3 separate regions of the Homo sapiens genome follow, and regions 2 and 3 are each linked to region 1. The links are contacts of gene promoters, found by promoter capture Hi-C in blood cells and fetal thymus (Javierre and others, 2016). All regions are on one chromosome and are shown on one strand. The core of a region is centred on a gene start or on the middle of the fragment in contact, and the rest is flanking DNA. Distances in the headings are between cores, read along the strand shown.

The links. The method cuts DNA at HindIII sites, captures the fragments that hold promoters and counts their contacts. A CHiCAGO score of 5 or more calls a contact.
Region 2: a fragment that was not itself captured here is called in contact with the fragment with the promoter of CTHRC1 in region 1 in 1 of 17 cell types (megakaryocytes); the score reaches 5.0 in megakaryocytes.
Region 3: a contact is called between a fragment that was not itself captured here and the fragment with the promoter of CTHRC1 in region 1, in 1 of 17 cell types (M1 macrophages). The highest score is 5.1, in M1 macrophages.

The regions. Positions count from the first base shown.
Region 1 is chr8:103,370,231-103,372,827 of GRCh38, forward strand. CTHRC1 (collagen triple helix repeat containing 1) reads left to right here and starts at 1,308. Exons shown (of 4, transcript NM_138455.4): 1 at 1,308-1,576. The coding sequence starts at 1,427. RefSeq lists enhancers at 968-1,762, 1,763-2,556 and a silencer at 1,192-1,311. The HindIII fragment of the contact is 4,990 bases long and covers 1-2,597 here.
Region 2 is chr8:103,178,075-103,180,671 of GRCh38, forward strand. The region is part of intron 1 of BAALC (BAALC binder of MAP3K1 and KLF4); the gene reads left to right. Among named protein-coding and RNA genes, the nearest start is that of BAALC-AS1, 7.2 kb to the left of the region's middle. The HindIII fragment of the contact is 6,749 bases long and covers 1-2,597 here.
Region 3 is chr8:103,221,833-103,224,429 of GRCh38, forward strand. The region is part of intron 2 of BAALC (BAALC binder of MAP3K1 and KLF4); the gene reads left to right. Among named protein-coding and RNA genes, the nearest start is that of BAALC-AS1, 51 kb to the left of the region's middle. The HindIII fragment of the contact is 1,100 bases long and covers 798-1,897 here.

The DNA of each region.
Region 1 (2,597 bases), core at 58-2,557:
AAAGTGAACTTCTACCATTTCCACTGGATATTGATTAACTTCCCTGAGCCTCAGTTTCCTCATTCGTTTATGAGAGTAGCCCAGGAGGCATCTACCCCTCCCAACCCGCCAGGATTGCTGAGAGGACAGAGTACGCGTGCAAGGTTTTGCAATGTGCCAGAGCTTAGTAAGTGTTAGCACTTATGAAAACAGCGTTTATATATCATTTGGGTCATGGGACTCTTGGAAAACCTGATGATACCTATGGTTTCTTCCTGCCTCCGCCCCACCCCCACCTTCCAGCCTCCAAAAATGTCACCTCCAAAAAACAAATAAGGCAGGGCGCGGTGGCTCACGCCTGTAATCCCAGCACTTTGGGAGGCCGAGGCGGGCGGATCACAAGGTCAGGAGATCTAGACTATCCTGGCTAACACGGTGAAACCCCGTCTCTACTAAAAATATAAAAAATTAGCCGGGGCCGGGCGCGGTGGCTCACGCCTGTAATCCCAGCACTTTGGGAGGCCGAGGCGGGTGGATCACGAGGTCAGGAGATCGAGACCATCCTGGCTAACACGGTGAAACCCCGTCTCTACTAAAAATACAAAAAATTAGCCGGGCGTGATGGCGGGCGCCTGTAGTCCCAGCTACTCGGGAGGCTGAGGCAGGAGAATGGCGTGAACCCGGGAAGCGGAGCTTGCAGTGAGCCGAGATCGCGCCACTGCACTCCAGCCTGGGCGACAGAGCGAGACTCCGTCTCAAAAAAAAAAAAAAAAAAAAAAAAAAAAAAATTAGCCGGGCGTGGTGGCGGGTGCCTGCAGTCCCAGCTGCTCTGGAGGCTGAGGCAGGAGAATGGCGTGAACCCGGGAGGCGGAGCTTGCAGTGAGCCTAGATGGCGCCACTGCACTCCAGCCTGGGCGACAGAGCGAGACTCTGTCTCAAAAACAAACAAACAAACAAAAAACAAATAAGACTCGCCGACCCATGCCATAGATTGACGACCCTTGAAGGTGGCTCGTGTACCCAGGTTAAGCCACGTGTCTCTAAAATGTTCATTTAGGCGGCGCTGTGTTACCTGCGGGAATCCCCGACCTGCGGCTCCTGACCACGGGCCACCCCGCCCAGACCCTGCAGGCGGGCTCTCCACGAGGGTCTGCGCAGCCCCGCGGGGGTCCTGACAGGCCGAGCGACTGCAGTAGGAGGGGGCGGGCCCGGCTCTCGGTCCGCCCCCACGCCGGGCTCGGGGTGGGGGCTCGGGGCCTATTACGGGATGGAAGCTCCGGGTGTCGCGGGGGCGGGAGGAATTAAGGGAGGGAGAGAGGCGCGCGGGTGAAAGGCGCATTGATGCAGCCTGCGGCGGCCTCGGAGCGCGGCGGAGCCAGACGCTGACCACGTTCCTCTCCTCGGTCTCCTCCGCCTCCAGCTCCGCGCTGCCCGGCAGCCGGGAGCCATGCGACCCCAGGGCCCCGCCGCCTCCCCGCAGCGGCTCCGCGGCCTCCTGCTGCTCCTGCTGCTGCAGCTGCCCGCGCCGTCGAGCGCCTCTGAGATCCCCAAGGGGAAGCAAAAGGCGCAGCTCCGGCAGAGGGAGGTGGTGGACCTGGTGAGTCCGAGGGAGCCGAGCCGGGACCGCCGCGCTGGTGGAGGGGACCTGGCCGCGCGCCCCACGGGCAGGGCGTCAGTCTGGCTGTTGGGGGTGTCTGTCTGTACAGCTGTGTGTCGTGTGTCTTGCTGCGCCGGGGTGTCATGCTTTTTATTTACAGGTGAAGAAGGACCTGGTTATGCGTGCAGTGAGTCTTGGAACTCAGAGGGGAGACCAAAATGGGAGGCCATCGTGGAGCGGACATGCGATATGGGCCCGGTGGGTCTCCCCGAAGTACAGGGAGTCCCCCAATAATTTCTGGCCCCAGGGGGACCCCTTGGGAAGGGTGGGAGGGATAGGGCGGCAGTGAGAGTAGGATGAGGAGCTTGGGTACGTCCGAAGTGGACCTGGGAAAAACCCTGGCCTCGCTGATCACATGGACCTGGGCCTGGGCCAGGGCGGTGCAACGTGTCCTTTGTTGGGGCTGGTGGCCACGTCTGCCTGCGAGAGAGAATAACAACCCCCACAAAGCATCCGTCCAACTCTTTGTAACTTGAAGACTATGAGTCACGTTGGGTCATCTTCCTAGGGAGTATGGGCTGCAATTTACTTTGTTGGACAACCACAGCTGGGGCTAGGAATGGTTCAGAAGGTTTAAGGCCGGAAAGGGAAATGAAGGGGCCCGGCGCTAACCCTCTAAGGACCTGTTTTGCTTCTGTTTAAACCAAATGGGCAGTCTGTCATTACACACACCCTGGGTCTTCATATGTGGCCGCCAGGTAGGAGCATCACAGTCAAGCTACGGGAGAAAACAGTTTCCAGGAAACTGGAAATGAACGGCCCGAGTGCTTTCCAGGGGCTCATCTGTGGGAAGGTATGTTTGCTTAAAATCCTTCCCTCTAAAAATCAACAAACCCAGTGGAGGGCGGAGAGGTTCTCTGGCCTGTGGTATGAGGGAGCCTTTCAGAGCTACCGTAGTCCTTGGCATATTATAAACTTCAGTCTCACTTGCAGACAAACATGATTTACAGGCATTGCAAGA
Region 2 (2,597 bases), core at 59-2,558, 190 kb before region 1:
TTGCTACTTAATAGGTAGTTTCATTAAAAAGCAGAGGACTATATCAAAGTATATTTCTCAAAATGTTAAAAACTTAATTATCATACAAATAAATAGTGAGCAGGTATCACTATCTTTTTAACTCATTGATGAGGGTCACAGCTGGATGATAAAGTCAGCTCAAAAGAGAATATGAGAATGTGATTAACAGAAGGGCGACATGAAGAATCCTTGTGGTGATGGAGCTGTTCTGTATCTTGGTTGCAGTGGTGGATAAGTAAAAGTGCACATGTAATAAAATCATATAGGATTAAGTACAAATATACAAATGAGTACAAATTAAACCTGGGGAAATCTAAATAGGACGGGTGGATTGTACCAATGTCAGTACCCTGGATAGGATCTTGTACTACAATTCTGTAAGATGTTACCATTGGGGGAAATTAGAAAAGAGCACACAGATCACTCTGTACGATTTCTTACAACAATCTATAGATGATTTTGAAATAAAAAGTTTAATTTAGGCTGGGCACAGTGACTCACGCCTGTAATCCCAGCACTTTGGGAGGCTGAGGTGGGCGGATCACAAGGTCAGAAGTTCAAGACCAGCCTGGCCAACATGGTGAAACCCTGTCTCTACTAAAAATACAAAAATTAGCTGGGTATGGTGGCGTGTGCCTGTAATCCCAGCTACTCAGGAGGCTGAGGCAAGAGAATTGCTTGAACTGGGACCCAGGAGGCAGAGGTTGCAGTGAGCCAAGATTGCACCACTGCACTCCAGCCTGGGATACAGAGTGAGACTCTGTCTCAAAAAAAAAAAAAAAGTTAATTTAAAAACAAAATAAATAAATGGCTCAGAACAAAAGGGAATATGAGAAACTTTTAAAAATAGTTGGTGGAAAGAAGGAAAGCTGAGATAAGATTGCTAAATTAAATACAAAACTAGTTACATCCTAAAGGACAAAACAAAAACAAAAAAATTCCACAAAACCCAAACCCATAGTCTTTGGGGTTCTCTTCTCTATCAGACAGAAAAGAAACTCATCATGCATGATCAGTTCTCAGAATTGTAAACTGTTTGGCCCTAATCAAATGTGCAAACCAAGTTGCACGCTCTAGGCCAGGATCTCTCAATGCCTCCAGCACTATGGAAATTTTGGGCCCAAATAATTCTTTGTTGGGGGTGCTGTCGTGGGCACTGTAGGATGTTTAGTAGCATGTGTGGCCTCTACAGCTGAAACATCTCCACATGTCCACTGGGGGTAAAGTCATGCTGGGTAGGAGCCCCAGAACACCTTTAGGTGAGCTTGTTGGGAAGTGCTCCTAGCATAACGTTAATCATCTTTTCTGCATTATCCCAATCTCTGGATAATTGTTCTTCACAAATAAAACTACCATTTGGAGGGTCACTGTGCTGAATAGAAGCACAATGTGCTCTATGCGGAGTCACAGACTTTTAGCAGAACAGGATCCTTAGAGATTTTCTAGGCCTGCTTCACCCTCCTTGTTTCCCAGCTGAGGAATACCAGTGGAGATGGCTCGGCTAAAGTCACATAGCTAGTTCATGTGGGTGTGTCCAATTCAATCCTGTCTTCTTCCAAATGGATGTGAAGCAGTCACTATGAAGTCTTTAAAACTTTGTGGGTACCAATTATGTGCCAGGCCCTGCGCTGGGCTCACAGCCAGGTGATGGCTAACACGAGGTCCTGCTCTTGAGGCACTGATGGTCTTCCTGGGGAGATAAGGATGTAGGCAAATAATTACTGTGGGAGGGATATTCAGTAGTGCAGGCTGAGGATGAAGGCTGTGATGGCCTTAGAGTCTCAGGGATAAGCCCTAAGGGAGTCTGATGAGGACCAGAGTTCCCAGCTCCATGATCAAAGAGAGGTGGTTGTACTCATTGCAGAGGGAAGTTGTTGTTCCTGGCGCAGAGGGAATGTGAGGCCCAAAAGTGAATCTGCCCACAGTGCAGGCCTGGGCCAGGTTCTGGGATTACTGGGAGGCCCAGAAGACAATGATAAGCAGGGGGAGTGCAGAAATGGGGAGCTGTGAAGAACAAGTGGAAGAAAGGAGCAGATTTATAGCCAAGAGATCAGGCCAAAGATAGGACAGGGTGGGCGAGTGGGAGGAATGCAATTCTGAGATGGAGAAATTAAGACAACTAGAGTTCCAGGAAGAAGAGAACAACTGGGTAAAATCACAGCAGTGTTGAGAGCATGGTGGTGCCCGTGGTTTACTGTTAGTGGTCACTATGGTTTCCAGAAATCTAACTGCATGAATGGCACCCAGGAACTGAATCTGGGACTTCCTGGCTGGCTGCACCCTGCAAGGCTCACGTGCTTGGCCTCAGAGAGGAAAGGGACTGGAACTAGGACTCAGAACAAAAATTTGGCAGAGCATGAATCCAGGTCTGGCTGGCACAGGAGCTGCTTCCAAGATATTTTACATCCAAAGCACCAACCTCACATGTTGTGGCAGTTACAGGAAGGAGGCTTCCAACTTTAGCATCCTTCAAGCCCTTGCCTCGTTCCTCGTGACTCACCAGGGAGAGAGAAACTGGAAAACAGGGACCAGAAGGATGTAGGGAGAGGATTAGACAAAATAAGGGCCAGAGCAAG
Region 3 (2,597 bases), core at 98-2,597, 150 kb before region 1:
TTATTCTGAACCAAATATGAGTGACCATGGCCCATGACACAGCCCTCAGGAGATCCTGAGAGTATGTGCCCAAGGTGGTTGGGGCACAGCTTGGTTTTATATATTTTAGGGAGGCATGAGACATCAGTCAAATACATTTAAGAAACACATTGGTTTGGTTTAAAAAGGCAGGACAACTCAAAGCAAAGTGGGCAGGTGGCGGGTGGGGGGCTTCCAGGCTATAGGTAAATTTAAACATTTTCTGGTTGAGTTTGTCTAAAGACCTGGGATCTGCAGAAAGGAATGTTCAGGTTAAGAAAAAGGATTGTGGAGACCAAGTTTTATTGTGTAGAGGAAGCTCTTAGATGGCAGACTATAGAGAGAGCAGGTTGTAAATTTTTTACAGACTTATAGGGGTGGCTGGCTCTTAGTTGATTATCTCCTGGATCTGGGAAGGAAGGAAGGAAAACAGAGGAAAAAGGATTCTCTATAGAATGTGGATTTTTCCCACAAGAGACTCTGTGGGGCAATTTCAAGATATGTCAAGAAAATATATTTTGGGGTAAAACATTTTGATTTTCTTCCTTGTTATGCCAGAGTCAGACTGGAAAGTAAAACACAATATACAGGGTCAAACAAAACCTATCTGATGAGAATTTATGGTTTGTAGGTTATGACTCCCCAGGCCCCTTAGATAGGAATTTGGGCAAGATAAAAAAATCAGAGTTTAGTCCTCAATTGCAACGACTACCAACCTCTTAAACATCCTCACGACTGCTTTTGGTTGGGTACTTTTCCGGCAATGTCTCAAATTCAAAAGCTTCTCTTTCATAAAACATTTCTGAGAAAATGCATTGTTGTTCTAATTATTTAATTTGCTAACTTAAATACAGTGTCATTATTTGAAAGTGGATTTGTTTACGGCTTGGAACTTTTTGAGCCCATATCATGGGAGTTACAGAACTTTAGTTTGTCCTTTATCTGGAAGCACAACTTTTAGAGTTATTGTTGTTGCCATTTAGAAGTAGTAGTAGCAGTAGTCATCGTTTCAGTATAATGAGGCTTTATATTTTAATTTGCTGTTTGACTGACATCATCTTTTTACAAATAAAATTAATGTTAATAGCTATAATTGAGGTGACTAACCGTCCTGGTTTGCTGGGGCCTGAGTAGGTTTCTGGGATGTGGGACTTTTAGTTTTAAAACTTTTTGGCGGGCCGGGCGTGGTGGCTGGCTCACGCCTGTAATTCCAGCACTTTGGGAGGCTGATGCGGGTGGACCACAAGGTCAGGAGTTCGAGACCAGCCTGGCCAACATGATGAAATCCCGTCTCTACTAAAAATACAAAAATTAGCTAGGTGTGGTGCACGCCTGTAGTCCCAGCTACTCGGGAGGCTGAGGCAGGAGAATCTCTTGAACCTGGGAGGCAGAGGTTGCAGTGAGCAAAGATTGAGCCACTGCACTCCAGCCTTGTGACAGAGAGAGACTGTCTCAAAACAAAACAAAACAAACAAACAAAACTTATCGGCCCTGGATAAACCAGGATAAACTAGGAGAAGTTGGTAACCCTCTCAATGTTATGTGACATACTTAATTCTCTCAAAGAAAAGTAAAGAGCAGGCATTATTTCCTTCATTTTTCAGATAATAGAACTGAGTCAAATGTCAAAGCAACATGTCTTGCTGCAGCTAACTGGTAGCAAAGGCTTGCTCCATGTCCAGATCTATCTGGCCCCAAAGTTTGTGCTCTGAATATTTCTATTGTGCAGGCTTATGATATACAGATTTAAGAAATGACCCTATTGTAATTGGGATTACAATTATATATATATATCTGTGGCTGTTATAGGAATGACTACTTTGTAGCCTCTTAAATAGGCTTGGAAATCCAACTACTGGATTTTTTGCTTAGATTTTTAAGCTTAGAAGTACAGACTGAAATAAAGAGCTTTGTATCATCTGTGTATCATCTTTAATAAACTTTTGTGAAATCTTACCAACAGTCTTTTCTAAAGAAAAGCACTTCTGCAGTTTGGAACATTTCCATTTCCATTCTGGAAAGCCCTCTTACCTCCCACCAATTTGAGGGGAATGCTACAGTCAATTTAGCTCACTTTAAAGAAGGCCTCTGCATTCTATTCCATGCCCCAGTCCTCAAAGCTATTTAGTGACACCCGGAATGGAAGTCAGATGGAATTGGTCTCATAATTACCACGGTTTTCTTTAGGAAACAGAATCACTGCCTTCTTTTCCTTCACAACGCTTTGTGCGTGTGTGCATATGTGCATGTGCTTCTGCGTGCGTCTGTGTGTGTGTGTGTGTGTGTGTTTAGCAGGCATGGGGCAGTCCAATGTGAACTCAGAAAATGAAGTAACTACTGTTGATGAAAAGAGTCAAACTCTGTAAAATATTTGAAGAGATTTATTCTGAGCCAAATATGAGTGACCATGGCCCGTGACACACCCTCAGGAGGTCCCGAGAACATGTGCCCAAGGTGAGCGGGGCACAGCGCTTGGTTTTATATATTTTAGGGAGGCATGAGACATCAATCAAATACATTTAAGAAATACATTGGTTTGGCTCAGAAAGGCAGGACAACTCAAAGCAGAGTGGGCGGGT